Linked DNA regions of Homo sapiens: regions 1, 2 and 4 are each linked to region 3. Evidence: promoter capture Hi-C in 16 types of primary human blood cells and fetal thymus (Javierre and others, 2016). All regions are on one chromosome and are shown on one strand. The core of a region is centred on a gene start or on the middle of the fragment in contact, and the rest is flanking DNA. Distances in the headings are between cores, read along the strand shown.

Region 1 (2,742 bases), core at 178-2,677, 240 kb before region 3:
ACACCAACTATATTAATCCAAGTAATTTTTAAAGCATTTGTTGAAATGACAAAGATTCCTTTGAAAACCAATGTTTTCACTGTTTAAAGAGCAATAAGTCTGAAAGGTAATGGTGGCTTCCTAAATCCAAACCACTTCAAACAGCTTAAAAAAAAAAATTAACATCAACAAAGGGGAAAAAACAACAAGCAAAAATAAAATCTATGTATGACTCATGTCTTTGTCATTACTAGGAGTCACATAATACTATGAATTCCAAATTACATTTCAGTAGAGAAGTACCAAATTCTAACAAAGCACCTACCATTACTGGAAATCTGTAGGTGTAGAAGGCAGGAAACGGGAGTCTTAAGAAATTCCATGGAAACAAAAGGAGGAGAGAGAACAAACAAGACAAACAGAATCACCCCAGAGAGGTACAGTACAGCACTAAATGCAAAATAATGAACATAAGTCTGGAACTTCGTAGTTTACAGTAATGGCCGTCAGGAAGGTACTTGAAAGTGAGTAGGGTCAGAAGTGACAATGTCAGAGAAGCACTGCTTTTGGGAAGAGAAGAAAATAAATAGAAAATAGGTGTCTCTTAGAGATATGGCAGTAAAGAAAAAGAAGAAATTAAGCATACTGCAGGGGAAAAAAAAGACAGAAAACAAGACAAGCCCTCCTACTCCCTCTATTCATTCAATAAACTGCACTTCATCATATTGACAGAAGAGGGCACTCTTGAAATAGGCACTCACCACAAAATGCCTAGGAATAAAGGGAAAACTCGTACTAACTCCACATTGTTATTAGTATTCCTCGGCTAATCAGTGGAGCTGATTTTTTTTTTTAAAGATAAAATATGCACCAAAACATTTCAACTAATTAAAATTCTCCCCCACAAAGAAAATCAACCATGAAGCAGAAGTAAACTGTCATGTAACATTCCAAACTGAGTTAAATATTATAAAATAAGTATTTGAATATTGTTTAAAAAAACTAGAATCAGAGATTTAAAACTTAGAAGAGAACCTTTTAAAATCAGGAAGAAATGCAATGGGAGTTGATCAATTTCAGGAAATAAATTTAAGAAAAAGACCAAAACTATTTCAGAAATGAAGAACAAATTACAATGTGCCCAAGAGAGAATAAGTTCAAATGAAAATTTAATAGGGAGCATTTACAAAGGTAGTAAAACAAAAACCAAATGAAAATGAATTGAGAACGAGGTTAAAAAAAATCAGCGAAAGTGGTTGAAATGGAAGGCAGGCAAAGATGAGCTAACCTATGTATAATTGGAGTCCATGAAGAAGAAAAATAAAACAATAAAATAGAAATATTTTGAAATATAACCCAAGAAAACTTTCCAGAAATAAGATAAATCCTAAATCAACATAATGAAAAGGTCCACTGTGTGGCTTGGAGAAATGATCTAGAATGAACAACTCTGAAACATATCCTAGTAAAACTACTAGATTTTTATGACAAATAAAAAATCTTCATGACTTTCAGGCAAAAAGGTCAAATTTTATTCTGATAAAAAATGTAGGCTGACCTCAGGCTTTCTAAGAACAACACACGGAATTGGGTAAGAGTGGAACAGCATTTTCAAGAAACTCTGAATCACCCCAGAGAGGTAAAAAGTATAGCACTAAATGCAAAATAATGAACATGAGTCTGAAACTTAGTTCACAGTACTGGCTGCCAGGAAGGTACTTCCTGGCAGTGAGTAGGGATTTTATAGTGAGTAGGGATTTTATATCCATCCTTCATCCAACCAAGTGATAACTGGGGGAGCTTCTGCAAAAGAACCGATAATCATTTAATACATTTAATTACAGAGCTAAGATTAAAACTAGGGTGGGGTCATGGTATCAGAAGATTCTGTAAATATGACATGTTCTGACAAAGTAGAAAGAATGTAATCTTAAAATAGTACCAAAGGAGAAAGCAAAATATGACCATTGATTGTCGTTTAGGTAACAGGTGAGAGTCAAAGGATATCATGTAAAACTGACAGACTAGATAGTAAAAGTTTAAGAAAGGGGAGAATTAAGGGCACTATAAAAGGTATAAATATGATGGCAACCACTAGATCAAAAACATAAGCCTTTCTAAATGCCAAAAGAATTTTTAGACAACAATGAAAATACATCAAATAGAGAAAGAAACTCAGTAAATAAAACAATACAATCAGCACCTCAGCATCCTACTTAATATGGAAACACTAGAGGTATTCCCACAAAAGGAAAGAACAAGGCACTTTTCCGCTATTAACATTGTGCTGGAAGTATTAGCTAACATAGACAAGAGAAAACAAAAGGAGGCTTGAGGATTAGAAAAGAAGACAAAAAACTAACTCTATTGCAGAGGACACAGTAATTTATCAAGAAATCCTAAAGAATAAATGATAAAACTCACAAGTTCTCAAAACATTTATTCTCAAAATTCCTTTACACTCTTAAAAATCAAGGACCTCAAAGAGCTTTTGTTTATGTGGGTTATATCTATTGATATTTACAGATTAGAAACTAAAGCTGAGAAAATGTTAAATATTAATTTTAAAGTAAGAATATAAATGCATATTTTTGAAAAATAACCATAAACAAAAACTTTCAGTGAGAAGAATGACAACATTTTACATTTTTAAATATTTCTTTATTGTTGAGCTTAATAGAAAACGGCTGGATTTTCATGTTTCTGTAGTCAATCTATTATGATAGCACACATTACATAGCCTCCAGAAAACTCCACTGTACA
Region 2 (2,700 bases), core at 169-2,668, 210 kb before region 3:
CGCTACTGGCCATGAAGTCGATGTTTCTGAATCATCAACATATATTAAATAAGGTGCTTTAAACAGTAACACACATAAAACAAGGTTATGTATTGATCAGTTGACAAAAATGTGACCAGAAGCTCACAGGAACCTAACTTTGTATTGTCCCTAGGAGCAGTGGTTTAGTATTTGCTAATTCGGTGTTGGTGGGGACTTTATAGAACATAACTAGTGCAAGTAATGAGAATCGACCGGAGTTTCGGTCCTTGGGAAGATGGGGATGCAGGAGACAAAGTGCCAATAGCTAATGACAACTACTATTCGTGGAGCACTCTCTTCCTGGGCCAGGCCCCTGTTACCTCACAGAACACTGTCTTTTTCTTTAGTCCATTTATGCCTAGTGTTCCATTATTGGAACACTGAGCATGTGGGAGTTATTTATATCCTACTGCTCAAGGTCACCACCAAGTTCTGATTGCAAAAATTCAAAAAATTGCAACCTCAGGCATAAATGGGTTAATAATCATGTCTAACATAATAATAATGGCTGCTAACACCAAGTGAACACTCACTGTGAGCCAGGCACATACCAAACGCTTCATATTGATCACACAGATCTCATCGAATCCTCCCGTACCTGTGAAACCTGGGGGGTTTTAGGCCTCATGCCTGCTGTTCACAGCAAGTGTTCAGCACACTCACCTGTCCCGGGTTTTGGGTTTCTCATGTGGCAGGCTGTGCCTGGCTGGGAAAAGCCATTGCTTCAAGGATTTTTAGAACATTTTCCAGCTCTGGAGTGCACAGTGGAGGATGAAGGAACCAGGGACTCAGCCTGCTTGACAGTGGCTAAGAGAGCAGGCAGCCAGCTCATCCCCAGGATGTGCCACAAGCCTAGTACCACTGAGTCCCAGCCAACCGCAGGGCTGAGCTGCCCCTCTGCTGACCGCAGCAGGTGCCATACTGACATCCCTCCTTGTGACTTAGCTACCAGCAACTTGCTCTCACCCACCTTGGTGTGGAGGGAGAGCCCAGTTCCCAGCCTCAGCTTCACCCCAGCTAAGCTGCAAAAGCCTGAGCATGGTAGCACTTGGCACATCAGTGGCCCTAGGCCACAGTCACCTTCCCCAGGTGACGCTAAGCAAGCAACTCACTTCTCCTACCTGTGGTTTTTCCTGCCTACAAAGTGGGAATAATTACACTCCCGCTTCCAAGTTTTCACATCTACTATCTCACAATTTAGAAGAGAAACAGGCAGGGCCAGTTAAAAAAAAGAAAACACAAAGACAGTGATTGTTATTATTGCTGATAACATTAGATGAATAAAGTAATATTCCCTGGACACTAAAGAGAAACAAAGTGGCAGCATTAATTATCTCATTTTTGACATTTTTCATTATGGCAGGATAGGTGGGGCTCCTCAAAAGCCAAATGCTCAGAATATTCCTGCCATTGAGCTGTCCATGGGAAGAGGTGTATAAGGCGTCTACTGACCACCAGGGGAACTAATCCCCTCTAGGTTGCTGCCAGTCCTACCCACAGCCAGGAAGAGTGAGAAAGGCTCAGAAACAGCCCCCAACAGGTGAGGAGAGGGAGCAAAAGCCCTTCTCAAAAGCAGGGCCCCAGAGAAGATATAAACAGGGCTGAGCGGCAGGATGGGCTGGGACAATTCCCTCCTCCTGCTGCGAGGTAGAAGCTGTGACCCTGCAGTCCCAACAGCCCCACCTGCTTCTTGGCTGCCCCTGCCGGAAACACGCAGGGCCCAAGCCTGGACAGCAGGAGCCCAGGTAAGCGGCCCCAGGTGCAGAAGTGGCCTTGGCCACAGGAAGTCCTGTCTCCCGCCTACGGCTAATTGCCACCACTGCAGAGGAGCCGAGCTAATTATACAAAAGTATGTGGCTCCCACATTCCCGGGCCACCACACACTTGCACACACCTCACAGGAGACCAGCCTGACTCCGGCATCCACCCCAGCCCCCTCCTGGCTCCTCTGAGCCTCCAGAGATGTCCCCTCTCCTGCAGCCTTCTCTATAAGCTCTTCAGGTAAGCCCCAGCAGCAGTTCCCTCCACTCTCCCTTTGCCTGCCTCTGAGGCACTTAACCCTCATCTTTACCTAATGTAAATATTTAATCCTGTACATTTAGGATCTGCCTGTCACCTGCCTCCAGTCTGTTCTCTCATCATCCAAATGGTCTTCCTGCCAGACCCGGGGCAGACCCAGGACTCCAAAGGGCTCTCTCTCCCCAGAGAGCTCCCCGACACAGCCCGGCACCTAGCTGACAGTAACCATGCATGGGGGGTGACAAATGTTCGAACCAGTTGTGCAACCTCAGTCAACGTGTGCGCTCTGAGCTTTAATTTTCTTATTTGTAAAATGAAGCTACCACCACCTGCCTCACAGAGTTTCTGGGGAATTGAAACCTAGCACGGTGCCTGACATATAGTAGGTAGCTCATAAATGCTTACTGAATTCCCAGCAAGCATTCGTGATGGGCTGGGGCCTTGCGCATCTAAAACAGAACTCATCCACCCATGTGCAAGTATCCTTCCCTCCCCGCACCCACTCTAACGAGAACTCGATGCCAGCCCATCCCTGCCTCCGTGATGCACTCAAGAGCCTGGTAGGCAGGACAGGGGAGGATGGAGCTGCAGAAGGGCTGAGTTGAGAGACAGGGTCCACCCACATAATCAAGTCCTGGAAAGGGGGCAGGAGAAGAGAAA
Region 3 (2,700 bases), core at 94-2,593:
CCTGAGAACCATTCATTCTCTGACCCAAGATAATATAACCTGAAATGAAATAACTTCAACTAAACATGTCTATCTCAGTATTTTTTCCAGCACTGAGAAGCTTGAAAACAACTTAAACATCTAACAAAAAGGACTGTGTAAGTAAATTATGGTATGTCCATCTTGTGAAATACAGGCACTAAAATATGTCTATGCATTTTTCAGGATTTAGAAAAATGTTTATGATCCATTTTTATATCTTTTGTTTTTGTGTGCAGCAAAACACAAAAACCAAAGATACAAAATTCTCTGTTCAAAATTATCTCACCTGTGCAAAAATCAGCAGTAGAAAAAATCAGCAGGAAATATGCCAAAATTTTAACAGTGTCTGTCTATGGATGGTGAGGTTATAGGTGATTCTTTTTCCTGTTTATTTCCATTTATCTGTGCTTTGCAATTTTTCTCAGAGTACGTATTACTGTTTCCCATTATATGTTACAAATGAAATGAACACATTCTCATAAGTTAAAAAAATATAGAATATATATTTTTCTTTTTCCTTTTCTTTTTTTTTTTTTCTGAGACAGAGTCTCGTTCTGTCACCCAGGCTGGAGTGCAGTGGTGCAATCTTGGCTCACTGCAACCTTCGCCCCCCAGGTTAAAGGGATTCTCCTGCCTCAGCATCCTGAGTAGCTGGGACAACAGGTGCACACCATCACTCCGGGCTAATCTGTGTATTTTTAGTAGAGATGGGGTTTCGCCACGTTGGCCAGGCTGGTCTCAAACTCCTGACCTCAAGTGATCCGCCCCAGCCTCTCAAAGTGCAGGGATTACAGGTGTGAGCCACCGTGCCCAGCCAGAATGTATATACTTTTCTAATATATCAAGATATGTAATTTTCATTATCTGATTTGAGATGGGGTCTATTATAAAAAAAGAGAAAAGCCTTCAGATTATCTAACAGTCAAACTGGTCAAACTGGTCATTCAAGTCTACAGGGCACATAAAGGTAATAGCATGCCAGCCTCACCAATCATAGAAACCAGATTGTCAAGGACATGCAACTTATTTTGGTAAGCAGACGAGTATCTGAGGGAAGAGGCTGAGAGAACACTGACACCCTGCCCTCACACTTCTACTAGCACATTTCTTAACAGGCAATGGAGATAGATAATATTTACTTAAATTTCTTGAATGTTGGGCAAAATCCCACCGATGTAGTGTCAACTGGTGAACTAGAAATGACTCTCGAGTGGCGCTGGTGACGGTGTTGAGACATTTTCCAAATTTTCAACTTTTATTCCTTGCTTTTAGCATCCAACAGAAAATCTCTGCTTAGGGATTTTCCTTAGCGTCTGGATTCTGAGAGGCAGCAGAGAAGGGGCCACGAAGGGAATCCTTGCTTTATGAGGTCACTCTTGGGCATTCTGTTGCATTACCAGTGTGTAGGCCCCTGAAGTGGGGAGCTCCCAAGTGGGTCTATCATGGATTCTCTCTTCCCAAGGAGACTGAGTGCCTCCATTCAGCAAAAAGGCTATGGGCACCCAGCAATCATGAGGCTCTGGGTTAAAGCTGGAAGTCACTAGAAACAGACCACACAAAGGCCCTCCCTTCAAGAAGTGCCCCCAGCTGATAGACACAGGCCCTTAATAATGTGTTAGAAAAAGTTAAGGGTCATATATAAGGGGGAAAAGCAAGTTCTCTGGGCTCTAAGAGAAAGAGAGCACATCCAGGGCACAGCACTGGAAAACACCTGGAAGGACAAGAAAAGATTGTGATGGGTTTGACTTAGAACAAAAGAAAACAAGAGAAGCAAAGAAGGTAATAGTGAGGTAGGGATAGTGGCTCACACTTATAATCCCAGCAACTTGGGAGGCTAAGGTGGGAGGATCACTTGAGGCCAGGAGTTTGAGATCAGCCTGAGCAACATAGTGAGACCCCCATCTCTAAAAAAAAAATAAGAAATAAAAATCAGCGACGAGGCATAGCGGCTCATGCCTGTAATCCCAGCACTTTGGGAGGCCAAGGCAGGCAGGTCGCTTGAGGTCAGGAGTTTAAGACTAGTCTGGCCAACATGGTGAAACCCCATCTCTTACTAAAAAAAAATACATAAATTAGCCGCGCATGGTGGCAGTTGCCTGTAATCTCAGCTACTCAGGAGGCTGAGGATGGAGAATCACTTGAACCCAGGAGGTGGAGACTGCAGTGAGCCAAGATCGTGCCATTGCACTCCAGCCTGGGCGACAAGAGCGAAACTCCATCTCCAAAAAAAAAAAAAAAGGAAATAAAAATTACCCATGGGAGGCTGAGGCAGCAAGATAACTTGAGCCCAGGAGTTCAGGACTAGCCTGAGCAAGATAGTGAGACTGTCTCTACAAAAAATAAAAATAAAAAAAATTAGGTGGGTGTGGTGGCATGCACCTGTAGTCCCAGCTACCAGAGAGGCCAAGGTAGGAGGATCACTTTAGTCCAGGCGTTGGAGGTTACAATGAGCTGTGATCACACCACTGCACTCCAGTCTGCATGATAGAATGAGACCCCATCTCTTAAAAAAAAAAAAAAAAAGAAAAAAAGAAAGGAGGCAATATAAACCCTGAGTTGGCTAACTGCAGGCATAGGATGGGATGTGCACATATAAACCACCTAAACAGAATATAAAGAGTGAGCACATGTGGCAGAGATGTTTTAAGTACAAAAGTAATAGGGATTTTTGCTCTGTTC
Region 4 (2,700 bases), core at 114-2,613, 250 kb before region 3:
GCAGACATTCTCCATGGGACAGTGGTTCAGGAAGCTGACTCTGGGACGACTGAGCCTGACCAAACAGCACTGAATGGGGGTGGGGCACCTCAACACAGAAGGGGCTGGTTCTCGGGGAAAGGCTTCAGCCAATACTGGAGGGATGGGACAGGGCAGGATAAGAGTCTGCAAACATTTGGAAGGCTCAAATACCCTGGAGGGATGGAATTACCTTGCCTAGTAGCCAAGTGTTTTAAGGCATCAGGCAAGGCCTTGCCCATAATTCACTTTCTATCTGTACATGAAAGTCCCACCAAGGATGAAGGATATGGCTGAACACTGGACCTGGTCTGGAGTGGAGTGGACTCTGAGAATGTCTGTCTGCTGACACTACCCTTGTTGCACTTCCTGGGGTAGGGACAATAAAGGAGACCCATGTGACCAGAGTCTCCACATCATCCCAGATGCTGGGCTTCCAGGGAGTATGGGAGGAACTGCTTAATGCACATCCCAGTAGCAGTGCCTCAGCACCACATCAGAATCTTCCTGGAGAGAGGCCAACCCCTGCCAGCCTCTCAGGATCCCTGAGTGCCTGAGCTCTTCATACAGATTGGGCAAGCGAGGCCCATAGAGGGTCACACAGGCATAGAGGGTCACACAGGGTCACACTGGCCCACTGCCAGGTCACACAGGCACGATAAGAGTTGGGAATACTGCTTTCTCCTGATGTCCATTGGTAGCGCCATGCCCCATTGGCAAGGCCTTGGCACTTTTTTTTTTTTTTATCTTCCCAGGACTTTTCCCACAGTTGCTTGGGTCACTATGAAACAGGTGATAGGTGGCCCTCGAGTGTTGTGACAGGAGACCTTTGCTTTATCAAAGGAGCTTTCCCATAAAGCGTCCTCAGTTCCCTGAACGTGGTCTCTCCAGGGCTGATGGCACAGAGCAGAACGCATGCCCAGAGAAACGACGGGAAAATGGGTATAAAATTACATAATAATGTCTGAGGCACACACCGAGAAAATCAATGTTCTCTCAACCATGGAGACCCACTGGGAAAAGACAAGGCGAGATGACCAAAGATTTGATGGGTCTTTTAAAGCTTTGTTTGGTCGAAATAGTTGTTCTTATTTTAAAAACTTCTTTGTCGCAGATAAAATTGTTCTCTAATTTGGTCATACATTTGGATTTCATTATTTTCCGAATGTATTCCAGACATCTAAAATTAAACAGATGTCATCAACCCCGTTTAGACCTAAAAGACTTGTAACCAAACAGTGACTTCAACCCCAATACAATACCGACTGGGAACACTGTGTTTTAGTCATTAAAAGTTTTAAAACTCTGCTCCATTTTTCTCATTTCCTATAATGAGATCTTTTCCCCCTCCTTGAAATACGCCAATTCTTCAAGGGTCAGTGGAAAGTCAAACTGGAGAGTAAAGCAAATTTAAATACGAAAAATGGAAGAGTGAAATATGAAATCCTTATCCACTGAAACCCTCACTGAGAAACCGAAGCTCAGTTTCATTGCAAAGGAGAAAAACGGTAAGGCAGAGATATAGAAATAGTATGAGTGCAGGAAGGGGATTTGGCTTCTAAAGCCTGAATTGTTTTATCGTTCCTTTTCTGACAGGGATTAGATTAGTGAGAATCCTCCAAGCTTGCTCAGGGCGTCCTGGGGACAGTTAAGAAGAAAAGACAATTCTTTCTCCTCTCCAATCCTCATCTCTGAGCTCACCCCCAAATGAATTTGTTAAACAGCGTAACCAGGTCAGAGGAAAGTGCCTATTGGAGATGCCCAGAATTCACAAACAGGGGCCTGTGGCCGCCAGGGAAACACCTGGGGAGGGGCTGGGGAATACATATGTTTGATGTTTGGAGGTCACATTGGGAATTTGGCTGTATAATGTCTTCATGAAATGTCCTAAGCAAAATGTAAATAAAATAGAGAATGGGATGAGAGAGGGACAGAGACCAAAAGAAGACCTTTGCCTCTCTCGTGGGAACTCGAGCCATTGAGTCCTGAACTGGGAGGCAGGCCCCTGCCTCCAAGCCCAGCCCCACTGTACACAGCTGGGGGCTTCAGGTGGGCCTGCTGCCCTCAGAAGCCCAAGCCCAGCACATCGCCCTGCCCTCCCAGCTCCTCAGGCCCCATCCTTCCCCACTCAACCCCCAGCCACCCCTCGCAGCAGAGGCTATCCAACACAGGAAGGAGGACAGGAGAGCTCCAGCCCATTCACCTGCACTTCCTAATGCTCACAAAGCAGCGCGTTTGCCCCATAACTCATCCCCCCCAACACCCAAATAACCCTCTGCCTAGGGTACTCTGGGAGGAAGAGCACCTCGAAATATGAGAAACCAGCTTACTTCAAAAAGACAGCACTTCCTAGGGCACCCAGCCCCAAATACCTGTTCCAGGAAAGAGGTTCAGGTTCCCGACCCCAGAAAGGGATATGGCCACTAATCTGCTCCTGCAGGGACTGGCAAGATTCTTGTTGGGGTCTGCCTTGTTTACCCTAGAAGAGGAGGCAGGAGGTCAAAAGACACAAACCCAGCTACCTCAGTTAGAGGACAAAGTCAAAAGCCACCTTTGAGGTGGGCAGGAGGAAAGGTGATGCCCCTGAAACACACATAGGAACGGGCCCACATTGGCCCTGAGTTGGGCCCCTCTCATGTGTCCCAAACTTGCCCATCACTTGAGATGGGCAACACCTCTTGC

The links. Contacts are between HindIII fragments. The CHiCAGO score rates a contact against its expected background, and 5 or more counts as called.
Region 1: a fragment that was not itself captured here is called in contact with the fragment with the promoter of CATSPER3 in region 3 in 4 of 17 cell types (M2 macrophages, M1 macrophages, naive B cells and 1 more); the score reaches 8.2 in M2 macrophages.
Region 2: a fragment that was not itself captured here is called in contact with the fragment with the promoter of CATSPER3 in region 3 in 4 of 17 cell types (M2 macrophages, M1 macrophages, M0 macrophages and 1 more); the score reaches 8.3 in M2 macrophages.
Region 4: a fragment that was not itself captured here is called in contact with the fragment with the promoter of CATSPER3 in region 3 in 1 of 17 cell types (naive B cells); the score reaches 6.6 in naive B cells.

The regions. Positions count from the first base shown.
Region 1 is chr5:135,201,716-135,204,457 of GRCh38, reverse strand. All of the region lies in intron 3 of PITX1-AS1 (PITX1 antisense RNA 1), which reads right to left. Among named protein-coding and RNA genes, the nearest start is that of LINC02900, 45 kb to the left of the region's middle. The HindIII fragment of the contact is 4,619 bases long and covers 1-2,742 here.
Region 2 is chr5:135,178,585-135,181,284 of GRCh38, reverse strand. The region is part of intron 3 of PITX1-AS1 (PITX1 antisense RNA 1); the gene reads right to left. Among named protein-coding and RNA genes, the nearest start is that of LINC02900, 68 kb to the left of the region's middle. The HindIII fragment of the contact is 7,736 bases long and covers 1-2,700 here.
Region 3 is chr5:134,966,550-134,969,249 of GRCh38, reverse strand. It overlaps CATSPER3 (cation channel sperm associated 3), which reads right to left and starts at 1,343. Exons shown (of 8, transcript NM_178019.3): 1 at 1,161-1,343. The coding sequence starts at 1,258. The HindIII fragment of the contact is 4,293 bases long and covers 103-2,700 here.
Region 4 is chr5:135,217,944-135,220,643 of GRCh38, reverse strand. The region is part of intron 3 of PITX1-AS1 (PITX1 antisense RNA 1); the gene reads right to left. Among named protein-coding and RNA genes, the nearest start is that of LINC02900, 29 kb to the left of the region's middle. The HindIII fragment of the contact is 560 bases long and covers 1,084-1,643 here.